Regions from separate parts of the Homo sapiens genome. Here regions 1 and 3 are each linked to region 2. The links are contacts of gene promoters, found by promoter capture Hi-C in blood cells and fetal thymus (Javierre and others, 2016). All regions are on one chromosome and are shown on one strand. Each heading gives the region's core, a stretch centred on a gene start or on the middle of the fragment in contact. The rest is flanking DNA. Distances are from core to core; before and after follow the strand shown.

The links. Contacts are between HindIII fragments. The CHiCAGO score rates a contact against its expected background, and 5 or more counts as called.
Region 1: a contact is called between a fragment that was not itself captured here and the fragment with the promoter of CNMD in region 2, in 1 of 17 cell types (M2 macrophages). The highest score is 5.7, in M2 macrophages.
Region 3: a contact is called between a fragment that was not itself captured here and the fragment with the promoter of CNMD in region 2, in 1 of 17 cell types (M2 macrophages). The highest score is 5.3, in M2 macrophages.

What each region holds. Positions count from the first base shown.
Region 1 is chr13:52,692,346-52,696,902 of GRCh38, forward strand. SUGT1 (SGT1 assembly cochaperone of MIS12 kinetochore complex) reads left to right here. Exons shown (of 13, transcript NM_006704.5): 13 at 1-4,557. Among named protein-coding and RNA genes, the nearest start is that of SUGT1, 42 kb to the left of the region's middle. The HindIII fragment of the contact is 3,693 bases long and covers 432-4,124 here.
Region 2 is chr13:52,737,211-52,741,727 of GRCh38, forward strand. It overlaps CNMD (chondromodulin), which reads right to left and starts at 2,610. Exons shown (of 7, transcript NM_007015.3): 1 at 2,420-2,610; 2 at 1,821-1,961. The coding sequence starts at 2,491. RefSeq lists an enhancer at 180-681. The HindIII fragment of the contact is 4,345 bases long and covers 989-4,517 here.
Region 3 is chr13:52,783,621-52,788,049 of GRCh38, forward strand. No RefSeq gene overlaps it. Among named protein-coding and RNA genes, the nearest start is that of MIR759, 24 kb to the right of the region's middle. RefSeq lists enhancers at 3,257-3,773, 3,774-4,289. The HindIII fragment of the contact is 683 bases long and covers 2,547-3,229 here.

The DNA.
Region 1 (4,557 bases), core at 1,028-3,527, 45 kb before region 2:
TGATTTTTATTACCAAATCAGCTGACTGGAAATGAAGCAGAGAATATTCAAGTTAAAGAACTAATTCTTTTTTTTTTTTTTTTTGAGACAGTCTCACTCTGTCGTTCAGGGAAGGAATGCAGTGGTGCAATCTTGGCTCACTGCAACCTCCACCTCCCAGGTTCAAGTAATTCTTCTGCCTCAGCCTCCTGAGTAGCTGGGATTACAGGCATGGGCCGCCATGCCCAGCTAATTTTTGTATTTTTAGTAGAGACGAGGTTTCACCATGTTGGTCAGGCTGGTCTTGAACTCCTGACCTCATGATCCGCCCACCTTGGCCTCCCAAAATGCTGGGATTATAGGCGTGAGCCACTGTGCCCAGCCAAGAACTAATTCTTATATAGGAGCTGGGAAGATAAATTCCTAGAGATCCTCACTTTCTTAAGTAGGAAAGCTTATTAGGAATCCAAATCTTTTGCCTCATACTGGAAGTAATGCAAAGAAGTAGTCTGATTTTTGAGAGGGTGCTGTTTTTCTCAAATCTAGATCATTACAGAGAAACAGTGTACTTTTAACAACTGTTGCATGTGTAAGAAGACTGGTACATGATGCCAATGAAATTCTTTTTTTCCTTTAACTTGGGAGCTCTCATACCAGTTCCGTTGTACAAATGCTGAGATTGTTTCAAGGTTTTATTCCTACAGACATGTTAGGATTTGTGTATCACTGATTTCTCCAATAAAATTTGAATATTTCAGGTTATTTCCTTTTTCCTAACTTATGTTAGCATTTTGTATATATATATATATTTGAATTTTGGCTTGTCTGGAGTCTTAAATATTTGGTATGCCTTCACATTTGGATTTTTAGTTTTATTTTTACATTGAGACTTCTACCTATATCATTGACTTTATTTTTTCCTATGATTAAAGGATTCAGTTATACAAAAAGATGTTTCAGAAACACTGCTATTTACCTAAAGGTAATTTTCAGTTTCTTTAGAAGGAGTTAGGAAAATGGTCCTTAATACCTATATAGGGTTTTTTAAAAAACTGTACCCTATAATGCAGCCACAGAAGATCTAAATAATAAACAATTGCGCATACTATTAATATATATTTAGAGCTTTTGTTAAGTACATGAAAAGACAGTATTGCATAGTGGTTAAATGCATGGACTCTGAAGCCATCCTGTTTGGGATCATCCTGGCTACATTGCTTACTAGCTGTGTGACAATGGATATAGGTGCTTAATGTCTCTGTGCCTCAGTTTTTGTGTCTATGTAAAGGAGATAATAGGATCCCCCTCATGCCTCATGGTCTTAGTTGAATGAATTCATGTAACTCCACAGGTATCTTAATCCAGAAGGCTCAAAATACTAATGTTTTGTGTGTGTGTGTGTGTGTGCATGTGCATCTGTATGACAAGTGATATAAAACGTGACCTGAATTTATAATATGAATAGTCACATTTTGCAGCAGAAATATTAAATGTTTAATTATAGAATGCTAGCACTGATCCTGCTGAAATTGTTACAAAATACAGCAGTTGCCCCTTAACTGTGGCAGATACATTCCAAGACCCCCAGTACTGAATGCTGTATGTACATTTTTTATACATGTATACTTATGATAAAGTTTATAAATTAGGCACAGTAAGATATTAATAATAGAATATACAATATACCGCAATAAAACTTATGTGAACAGTTATTTTTGGACAGCAGTTGACTGTGGGTCACTGAAATTGTGGAAAGCAAAACCATGGATAAAGGGGAACTATTAATAGTCTATCTGTATTGCATTATCTTCTAAAATCCAAAATTCTGACTTCAAAAACTCATCTGAGGGTTTTGGAATTGTGTATCTATGTGTGTGAAGTGCAAAGAGCAGTGCTTCATGTGACAGATAACATCAGATGATCCTAGGCTGGAAGGTGGAAATCCTAGAGAAGATTTTTTTGTGTTGTAAGTTCAGTCTTTCAAGATGTGGAATTCTGTCTGAGGAAAGTATATCACCTAGTTAACAATTGTTACTGTAATTTATAAAATTTGTACTTTGGAGAGCATAAGAATTCATGAAAAGTTTTTAATAATTTTACTTAAACAGAGCTTAATTATGTAAGTATTGTCAGCACTTTATAAAGAATCGTAAAATAAAATAGTGGCAGAAAATATAAACTAGATGTAGAATGTTAAGGAACTTTCGGAAGTTCTCTGGTTTTCATTTCAATTTCAAAGCTCAAAACAGAAGGTAAAACTATTAGGATTTGTGAAAAATACAAGGTACAAAATCACGCAGTTTATAAACCACAGATTGTCTTGTTATTCCCATCAGTGAAAAGAAGCTGATATTTGTTTGTGTTTGTTTTTGTTTTTGTTTTTGAGACGGAGTCTTGCTCTGTCGCCCAGGCTGGAGTGCAGTGGCGCCATTTTGGCTCACTGCAAGCTCCGCCTCCCGGTTCACGCCATTCTCATGCCTCAGCCTCCCAAGTAGCTGGGACTACAGGCGTCCGCCACCATGCCCGGCTAATTTTTTGTATTTTTAGTAGAGACAAGAGTTTCACCGTGTTAGCCAGGATGGTCTCATCTCCTGATCTTGTGACCCGCCCGCCTCGGCCTCCCAAAGTGCTGGGATTACAGGCGTGAGCCACCATGCCCAGCCTGCTGGTAGATGTTTTTATGAGTTAATTCATCAATCTTATTATTCTTGCCCCAAATGAATCAGTGTGGAGCATATACAAGTGTGTAGACATTAATATGGGCTCACTGTCAGCTGGGAGTTCTCACAACTACCACTTTTTACTGATTATCTGTTTTCTAAACTTTTTCTGTGGCTTGAAGTGACTGAAAGTGAACACATTCATAAGTAATGAGCTTAGGCTGAGGATATATATCCAGTGGGGGATGAAACATGCTTAAGAAATTGAGTGCATTTCCTTTATTATTGTTATTATTTTGCTATTTCAAAACAATTGACTTTAAAAAATTATACTTCACCACAGAGACAGGTGTTGTTTTGTAATGGAAGGAGTAGTAACTTATGAATCTAGACTCTTAAAATCCCAGTTCTGATACTTTCATAATTGTGTGTTTTGAGGGCAAGTGACTTATCTGAACTTTTTTCTTTTTTATAACACTGGATGATAATTAACCCTCAGGATTGTGAGGATTTAATAACTAAGTCCTGACTCAAATTATGTTACCAATAAATGCTACTTAAATGTAAAGTCCTTGATTTATTTTTTCCCCTCAGTCCTGTTTAGTGTTGAAATTCTTCAAAGGAGGGTGAGTCTGGCATTTACCTGCTATTCAAGAGTTTTCAGAATTCAACCCCAGCCAAAATTTTTGGCCACATCTCTTGTCACTGCTTTGCTGTGTACTAAAGCTCCCAGACACACAAGAATCTTCTAGTCATGGTCAAACTTTTTCTGCAAAGGGCACTTACAGTCTATTGCATATTCTTTGTTTTTAGTGTTCAGACATCTGCTGTTTCTGAATATGTCGTGTATTTTCATTCCTTTTTCTGCCCCTCCTGGGCATCTCCAGTTTCCTACTGATGTGTCAAAACTGAGTTTGTATGCTACCTCCAGGAAAGCAGTCTAATCTTTTGCAACTCTGTTACTGACTTTTGTGGCATTGGATTGGGTTATTTGCTTATGGTTGAGACATCACTGGATCCTTTGATGGAGTCATACCAAAACCACAACATGTCATGAGCATGCTTGAGAGTGCTAATCTATTCCTTGTTTGTCAGACCAGTACATTACAGTTGGTTCATTTCTTCCCCCGTGTGACTGAGTTTCTTGAGGGCGCGGTCTAGCTTCCATCTTTGTATGTGTAGCACCTGGTACATAGAGAACAGGCTCCCAGAATTGGATGGATTTGCTCATGGTCTTATCACTGCACAGAATGCCCTTATTTTCTTCCATTCATTCTATGAGATCTCAATTAAAATGTCAGTACTCTTGTGGAACTCCCCTCTCCATGCCCTCTACTGAAATGCATTGCCACTCTAGTTGTGATGTGGGAGTGCCTTGTTTATGCCTCTATTTATGACACCTTCATGGTGTCACATGTTATAGGGTTAGTTGCGGCTGTGTCTGTTTTACCTTGTGTGTCTTGGTCAGTTAGTGTTATTTACTTAAGCTTTGGATCTTTGATACATAGCGTAGTGCCTTTCACATAGTATGTACTCAAATATTGGAAGTTACTCATCCCAAACCATAGTGTTTAAAATTGGGGTTTTTTAAAAATGTCAAGCCCTTAAAGTTGATCATTTATTTGTCAATGTAAATAGAATAGTAATTTGTTTTCAAAAAGATGAGGTCTTGCTGTGGTGCTCAGGCTGGAGTGCAGTGGCTGTTCACAGGCGTGATAATTGTGTGTTACAGCCTCAAAGTCCAGGGCTCGAGTGATCTTCTCACTTCAGCCTCCTGAGTAGCTGAGACTAGGCGTGCACCACCGTTTCTGACAGGATTTTAATTTTTAAGTAGGTTTTTAACCCACAGCCACGAGAGCTAATTTTAACTACATTGTTAGAGGTAGTAACAGTTATATAACTAATCAAAACCAGTGTG
Region 2 (4,517 bases), core at 1,360-3,859:
CAGGCAAAGCAGACCTGTGCATGTGCTATGCCTAGGTGGTGCAAAAATTACTCTATTTAGTATTTTGTGATTTGTTTTTCATACTTAAGTCATATGGATCAGGGAGAAAAAAACTATCATGATTTTCTTCATTCTCCTGTCTGTATAGGATATAGCAATAATTTTGATTGTTGACAATAAAATGTGATTCACTATTCCTCTGAATTCTTAGCATTTAATACTGCTCTCCTGAACCAGACAACCAACCATCTTGCAGTAAAGTAAAATATATGAAAAAAGGGAGCTGTGCTTATTCAGTATGATTGTTTAATCTCTCTTTTTAGAAGCCTGTCAGTTAGTGATGTTTACCTTGAATAATTAAATGACAAATGGTATTCATTTTAAAATATATCATGTCCAGAATCTTTACCAAAAAAAAGCATAGCTATTGTTATCCCCCATTGACCTATACCATTGAGGCTTTGTTATTTAAAAGATAGCATTTACATTCTAAAACCACAGAATTTCCCAAAGAGATGACAATCTAAACCCTGCTATTAATGGAGATGTAGATATTGAAATCATTCTCTTATTCACATTTGCTGTTTCAAACATGAGCATCTGGCCCAGCTTCTATATTTAAAATACAAATACATTAAGGCACTTTTCAAATACCCACAAAATACAGTGCAATTCTGATCTTACAAATCGATGCTTGTAAATTTGATATAGTCTCTAAAACAGACTCGGTGCTAAATGGCATGCTTATCTACATTAGACATTTGAGTTAAAAATACAAATTATGCAGTGACTGCAGAAGACGTGATGTGTAAAATGGTTGAATTGCTTTCAGCACCATTTTCTGTAAGTACTGGAATTCGTTCATGCTTTGCATTTCATGGTAGGAGAGAGGAAAAAACAGCAATCACCAATCCTCTGAGGATAGTGATTATGAAAGAGCCCTTTGTGTGTGCCCTGGAGATGGAATTCTTTTCCATTAGTTGAAATAAGCTTATACCAGACCTGGCAGTGGTCATCAAGATAAAATGCCCCCTTTTACATAGGTGAACACTTTCAGAGTATTTAGAGAACACACTGGAGCTCTGCCCAGTCAACTTAGAAACAGTCTTTATACTCCTCGAGAGCCGTGGAGCTTTAAAATAAATAGTTGCATACAAAGAAAGTAGGACAGCAGTTAGTAAAACACCTACTATTAAACCACATGTGATGACTAGGCCAGAATTAATTGTTAAAGAGATTTTCCACCTTTAAGGAAGTTAGACGTTTTGTTTGTTTGTTTGTTTTTTGTTTTTGTTTTCCAGAGAGAGAAGGGAATGTTCATGGCTAGGTCACAAAAAAACCTTCTGAAAGGCAAAAATTCCTTCCCAATGGGTCTGAATATGGGTCTGAATATTCCTCCACTATCTTTGTCCTGGATTTTAAACCCACAGCCTTTCTTAGCAGGGACAGGCCTTAGAGATCGTCCAGTTCCATTTTTTCCCTTCAGGACGAGTACACTGAGGCCAAAAGGTGACGTGCCTTCCCCACGGTCGCGCCACTGCTTAGTGGGAGATGAGCCGAGAACGGCCTTTCTCGGACCGTCCACTACATTCTCCCCTACTCTACGCTTCAATCTTCTCCCGTGAAACCTTCACTTGCTTTTCTACAACGTTGACCTAAGGCGGAAAGCCGCGTGCCAGAGTGGGATGGGAGAGGGGAGCTCACGCTGGGCCCGAGGGGCCCGCCGGCAGCCGCGCGCCCCTCGCCGGCCCGCGCTCGGGCTCCCCCTAGGGGCACCATGGGCGACACGGGGGTCCCCGCGCGCCGCCCTCTGGACTTACGTGACTGTCGCTCCCCTTCCAGAAGTAGAAGGCCCCGATGGCCCCAAAGAGCAGCAGCACAGCTCCCGAAATGAGGACCACGGCTCCCACCTTGAGCAGCCGCGCGGGGCTGGAGGGCTTCACCGTCAGCGTAGCGTACGCCTGCGGGCCGGGGCGGGAGAGGGACCGTCGCGTTTGTGCCGCCAGCACCTGCGGCCCCCAGCGCACCCGGGCCCCACGCGGTAGCCCCCAGGGAGTGGGGAGTCGGGCGGGAAACAGCTCGCCCGGGCTCCTACGGGTGCCCCTTTCGCCGCGCTCCCTCCCGAGGGTCCTTTGCAGTCGGGCGTGGAAGTGGGATGAGCAAACCCCGCAGCACAGGGCCTTCGCCCCAGGACCTGCACCCTCTACCGGCCACGGGACGTCCCTCCGCACCCGCCTGTGGATGCCGTGACCCCTGCACACTCATACGCGTGGGGCGACATCCCACCCACACATTTGGGACCCAAATTTATCCCCCCGCCAACACACCCATTCGGTGGCACGCACCCCTGAGTCCGAACTGTGGAACCTGATACTCACACAACCCAGGCCCTGCGTGTGGAATCCCTGGCGGTACTCACCGGGGGGCTGCAGAATTCCACGTCATCAGGTCCCACCAGGGCAATGGGAACTTTGTCGGAGTTCTCTGTCATGTTTGCGGCGGGAGGAGTGAGGCACTTGGAGACTCCCTGGGCACCCTGGGATCTGTCCCGCTGCCCCGACGTGCAGGGCATTTCAACGCCGCGCGCACACACGGTGCACGGTCCCGCCTGGGCCAGCCCAGCGGTCCCCACCCCTTCCAGCGCCTCACCTCTCTCCTCCCTTCTCTCTCCCGCCGCGGGAAGCTCGTCCTGCACTCCCGGATGCCCCCTTTCCTCCTCACTCTATCCTGTCTACTGGCCCCCCAAACAGCATCCCGGTGACTCTGAATGTGTGGGGGTGGTTGCATCCCTCAGAGCGGGATGCTGAATCCTGGGACCCAAAGAAATACTCAAGTGCCAGAGCAATTAGCCATGCACCGGAGGATGTCTTAGAATGTCAGCGGGCTCTGCTGTGACAACTGGCTGGAGGCCATTTCCTGCAGGGTCTTTGTAGGTGTGTGTTGGGGTGGGGGTGGGGGGAAGATGGCTCATGGAAGGTGAAGGAGAAGACAACAGAGTGGTGCAGGTGGACAGGGGACACTGGCCTAAGAGTGTAAGGGTTAGGCCACCTTCTCACTGGCCTGGCATTGCTGGATGGCCCCTGGGACTGGAAAACAGAGCAGGGTCTTAGGGATGGCTCCTTGCCACCAGTTTTTCTAGGGTCTGGGTACAACTGCAGCAAAAGTGAGAGCTAAGCAGAGCAGGGCTGGAGGGAAGGAGTTGGGGAGACCAGAATAAAAGTGCATGCTGGTTGGTTGAATAAATTAAATAAGTGCAAACAAAAGCAACAATGGCAAAGCACACACACACACACACACACACACACAGAGTACTGATGTATCCAAAGGAATAACACAAATGTGTGTGTGTGTGTGTGTGTGTGTGTGTATGTATGTATGTATATAAAATTTTCACTTTTGGAAATGCCATCTTCCAGTTCCAGGATACATGGTACTTCATTTGGATCCAGGCTTCCTTAAATTGCGTTCGATTCTAGCTTTGTGCAGAGCTCTCTGGTGAGGTGTAAGTGAGGAGCACTAGTGCATGAGAGGGATTGAGGCTTCCCCAAAGGGCAGCGGGAGATTGCATGTGCAGGACTGCAGAAGGAGAAAGTGTTGAAGAATCATCCAAGACATGTGATGAAGAATGAGGTGACAAGCATGATGACCTGGGGCTGGGAAGGAGGGGAGAAGTGGAGGAGACCACTTTCACAGAAGAATCGATAGGACTTGGCAATTCCTGGGCTGTGGGAACTGAGTTTTCAGACCTAGGAGGATTGGGAGAGTGATAGGAACCCTAGGGAAGTGAAAAAATTGGAAGAAACAGTTTTAGACATGTTGAGCTTGATGTGGGGATGAAAAGTAAAAGAGCCAAGGAAATGTCCTGAGCCTGCATTGGAATCAGCTATGGAAACAGCTGTCTGCACATCACACTAGACTTAAGGTGCTTGGAAAAAACTCCAGCAAGATCTCCAGCCAGGGCTCATCCCTGGGGCACTGCTGAGGCAGAGTTCAAAGACCTCTTTTCACAAGGGCATTCTTCACAGGAATTTTGGTGAAGGAATAAGAGAAGTAACTGTCAGAGAGGTGGGAGATGGTACAATATAAAGTAGTACATGTAATTTTAAAGGCACATTCAAGAAGGGTGGGTCAGCAGTGTCAAATGCTGAAAAAAAATGAGCACAGAGAAAGGCCTTGGAAGGGCACAACCAAGAGGCCATGGGAACCAGCGAGAGAGTAGTTCCATTTGCTTCCCTGGGCACAGAAGACACATTGCAAAGGGTTACAGAGTGATTAAAAATATTTGCAACTTATACCACAGACAAGGAACTAGTTTTCTTATATAGTGTTTTCCTAGGAAAACCAAAAGACCAAAAATGTAGTAGAAAAAATGGCAAAGAATGGAAACAGAGAGTTGGTGAAGCAAGAAGTAGAAATTTCTCTTAAATGTAAGAAGAATGAACAACAGCATTATTTTGCCTTTTTTTTTTTTTTTTTTTTTTTTTTTTTGAGACAGAGTCTTGCTCTATCGCCCAGGC
Region 3 (4,429 bases), core at 1,638-4,137, 47 kb after region 2:
ACTGGCTGCAACTTTCAATGTGTTCCCCAACTTTCACACAGACCAAATTGGTAGAGGGATGGAGACCTCATCAGATGACCCCAGTGCGCTTTCCACTGAACCATATGTCAAAGACACTGGAGAAACGTGAGGCCATGAAGTGATACTGGATTCCAGTTGAGTGACATGTTATTTTGTGTGCTTCCAAGCTATATTGTTGCGGCAGTGTGGCTTAGTAGGAACACAGGTTTGCATCAGACAGAATGGGGTTTTAATCCCAGCTCTCTCTCTTACTATTTGTGTGAATTTGACAAGTTATGCAACTTCTCTGTATCTTAGTCAATCCTTGTAAAATTCCAGTGAAGTAGGCATTATTACTGTCCTCATGTTCTAAAATGCAGTGGCATGGAGACTTTTTAATCTGTAAAATCTTTTTTTTGGGTGAGGACTAAAAATTATAATTGCTATAAAGGATATACCACATGGTAGGTGCTTAATAAATAGTTTTTTAAGTTTGTTATTGTTGTTATTGCTGATGATGCAGAAAAAGAACTAGAGCCAAGTTGATAAACCCAGAGAGATTATCCCCCCAGAGAGTCACCAAGAAAATCATAAGATGCTGGCATTAATGCTATAGTGGGTGAGACCTCTACATGAGCTCTGTATTGGTTTTTTATTGCTGCTGTAACCAATCATCACAAATTTAGTGGCTTAAAACAACACAAAGTTTCATTTCATAGCTCTGTGGGTGAGAAGTTTAAGTAGAGTGTGTGGCCTTATTGAGCTCTCTGCTTCGAGGGTAAAATTAAGATGTCCAGGCTGGGTTCCTTTCTGGAATTTCCACGTCTGAACCCAGCTCTAGGCTCGTTCAGGTTGTTGGCTAAATCAAGTTCCTTGCAGTTGTGTGATGGGGTCCCTGGTTTCCTGCTGGCCTGTCAGAGGCTTATCCTTGTTCCTCAGTGCTACTTGAATTCCTTCTTGTATTTTCCATGTGGCCCTTCTCCAGCAGCAGGGCATCTTGTTCCTCTCATGCTCAGGATTTCTCCAACTTTTCCTTGTCCTGAATCTCCCTGACTCATGTGGGCCCACTGGATAAACCAGGCTAATTGCTGTATTTTATAGTCCATGAGCTGAATCACAGCTGCAAAGGCCCCTATTCATAGGTTCTGGGAATTAGGGCATGGACCTTTTTGTGGAGCAGGCGGGGGAGTACATTCTGCCTATGACGACCTCTGAAGGAAGAACAGGTTATAGGCCAGTTCTTGGGATAGGAAGACACATTCAGATGAAACCAGGAGCGTCTAGACTTTAGGGAATGTGAAAATGGGTAGATTTGTGTCAGTGAGGCTGTCTCTAATGGAGATCTGTTATTTTTGTCCACTCAACATTCCTTTCTTTGGGAGAGATAACCTTTCTTCATTCTTTGTGGGTTTTATGGGGCTGCCAAATACAGGATTCCATCTACTTGGTGCAGGGATAGACTCATGGCCTCAAATGGGCCAATTATATCACCATCACCTCTCCCAGGAATCCGCTCTTGAGTGGAGACACGCAGGCACTGGAGGTGATTGCAGTGGAATGATGGTATGTCAGCATCCTAGAGAGGGGGCCGTGAGTCCTGTTTTTGAGTTCATGGGAGCAGCCTTCACTTAGTTCTTTCTGGGACCTGGTTGTTCAGCTCTTCCTTAAACACTGGTACCCACTTAGAATTCTTCCCATAAATACCCTTTCTGGCTCAAGTTACCAGAGTTGGTTTCTGTTGCTCACACCAAGAATCCTAACTGATGCCTCTCCCTGCCATGGCCACCACCCTCATTACACAAAAGAGCATTTATTCAAGTCTCCTTGCTCACAGCCATGCTGGGAATGAATTACTGACATGGTTTTTGATCTCTGTAATGGAGCTTCTTACCTTGAGCCATGTCTTTTTAACACTTCCTTCATTAACCCTGATAGGGTTAGTCCTGAGCAGACTTACAGAAAGTAGTTAATAACATGTAATGCTTCAAAAATCAGGTTCCATTAAAAGCATCAGCCAGACAGGCAGAAATCACCACTACTTAGCCTTTTATTACACACTGTATGTGAATTACAAACGCACAATATAATGCTCATTCAAGACGATGGCCTGAATCATAAAATTTCAAGTATGAAATGTCCTCTGTTTATTTCAGCAGGAAAGCATGTAGTACGACCAGGCTCCTTGTTTATTTTTTATGATTCAGTGCTTTAAGGAGTAAGCCCAAATTACATGGCACTTTCACTCCTCCCGCGTGTCTCATCCCCTGACAAGGAAGGGATCAAAGAGGTGTTACAGTAGGGAGGAATTAAGATTCAGATTGCGAACAAGGCATCAACCATTGTATTTCTGGCATGATGAGCTGAAGGAGTATTCTGAGTGACTCACATTTATTCAAAGGAAGGTTGAAGCGGGTCACCACTCCTCTTGCCCTGGCTCTGACCATGATTCTTGAAGAAGGGAGTGTTTCAGGATCTGTTCTGATCACTTAAAAGGCAGGGACTCCAGATGGGCAAGAAAGTGGCCCTTGCGTGGTGCTCTTGGGAAAAGCTTTGATGTGAGGAGTACACTATTCATTTTGATCCTTTCTGAAGAGAGTTACAGCAAATTTAGTTCCACTCAACCTCTCACAAGGTCACACATCCAGTTGGTTCTCGGTAAAGATTAAGATGTAATGAGTCTGCCTGCTGAGGTATCCACCATAGACCCCCTCACTATGTCTCTTCATACCCCAGGAGCCCAATTTCTCTAAAGAAGAAATTTGCAGAAACAATTCGCTCCCTCAGCCTAATTTCCCTCTTAGGCAGGAGAACAATCTCTCAAAGACAATTCTGTCAAATAATAATAGTAATACAGGCACCACAACCACCTCCTGTTTTTATACCACACTGCCCTTCCAGGGGGACAGAATGCTTTGAAGATCCTCTCTCCTTCCAGAAGACAAGGAGCTATCGCTCCCTCTTGAACTCCCAGGAGGCTGGGTGGTGATCAGCCTGAAAGAATTTGTTCTTCACAAAATCACCCCTGTACCCTGTGATCTTCTCAGAGCTTGTAAATGGAGTTTTTGATGCCATAGTCTATGGAGGGTTTTTCTTCTTTCTTTTTTTCTTTTCTTCTCTCCCTCCTCCTCCCCCACTATTTTTCATTTCTTTTCTTTGTTCTTTCTTTTAGTCGGATTGAGCAGTTAGGATGATACTGCTTATAGTCATCTGCCAAGGAGGCTTCTTTTCAAGCTTAGAAGAAGTCAGTGGTGCTTTTCCGGTCCTTGGGCCTGTCAGTGGTCCTCTAGACTCACACAGGGTAATGGGCAGCCTCCATGGTGAGTCAGCTGCCGCCTTCCATGACTGGCTGTATTGTTTTCCTCTGCAGTGACTGGGCCAGCACTCCATCCCTTTAACACAAAGGCATTGTTATTGACTGGTTTTGAAGGAAAATTTATTTTCCTCCACCCTCCTAAACCACAACTTCAATGTCTCTTCCTCCTCCTCTTCATAATAGTCACAGTAGGATGTTCAATTATAGCTAAAAGCCCTAGATTTAAGTGACAGATTAAGAGGCTCGGCAGGTTGTTCCTCTAATGTTCATTTCAACTGTTGGTTTATTTTTTAACCTGCAGGCACTGGGTTTTAGGTAAGCCTTTTGACAAGGTGCTGTTTGCTGATGCATCCTGTGGTGGTCCGGCCCTCTCTGCAGGGCACTGGATGTGGTCTTTGGGCAAAGTCAGCTGCAGGAAGGGCACTGCCCACCACCATGGCACCTTTGATCCCTGGCCCCAGTGCCAGAGGCTCTGGCCACACAAAGTGACTGGAGGGCAGGAAGAAGCCCTCTGACACCCCCTCCTGTCCCAGCCTGGCACAGAGCCTGGCACACAGTGGGTGCTCCATACAGTCTGCAGGGTGAAAGAATGAAACGCTCTGAAGCCAAGAGGCTTAAGTGTCTGCATTTGCTTCAGATGGAGATAAGGGGAGAACTACAAATGCTGCCCACTTCTGAAATTACAAAGGAAAAAAATGCCTTTTTTTCATTTTGGCTTCATTATGCTTTAAAGGGCATATTTCTTGCTCTCAGTAACTCAGGCCCTCTTCCTCTCCTCCCCCAAGGACTCTTCCCAGGAGTCTTTGATCCCCCTGGGGCCTCACAGGAAATTGCTCTCGGCTGCTCACCTCTTCACCTGGGACCTCCTTATAAATTGAGGGCAGGACTTTCCAGGGAACTTTATACTTTAATAAGGATGCAAGATTTCTAGATTCTAAATGAAATTTCAGTGGTGGAATTCCAGATTCCCTTTACAGGTAAAAGAGAAGCCATCTGAGAGATTTCCCCTATAGTTTCTCAAAGCCAACTCGCACCTTCCTGTATGAGTGAGGCCGATACCTCAGACACCTAGGAGTTTCCTGGTTCACTACTGAGCAGAGACAATGAGGAATTCAG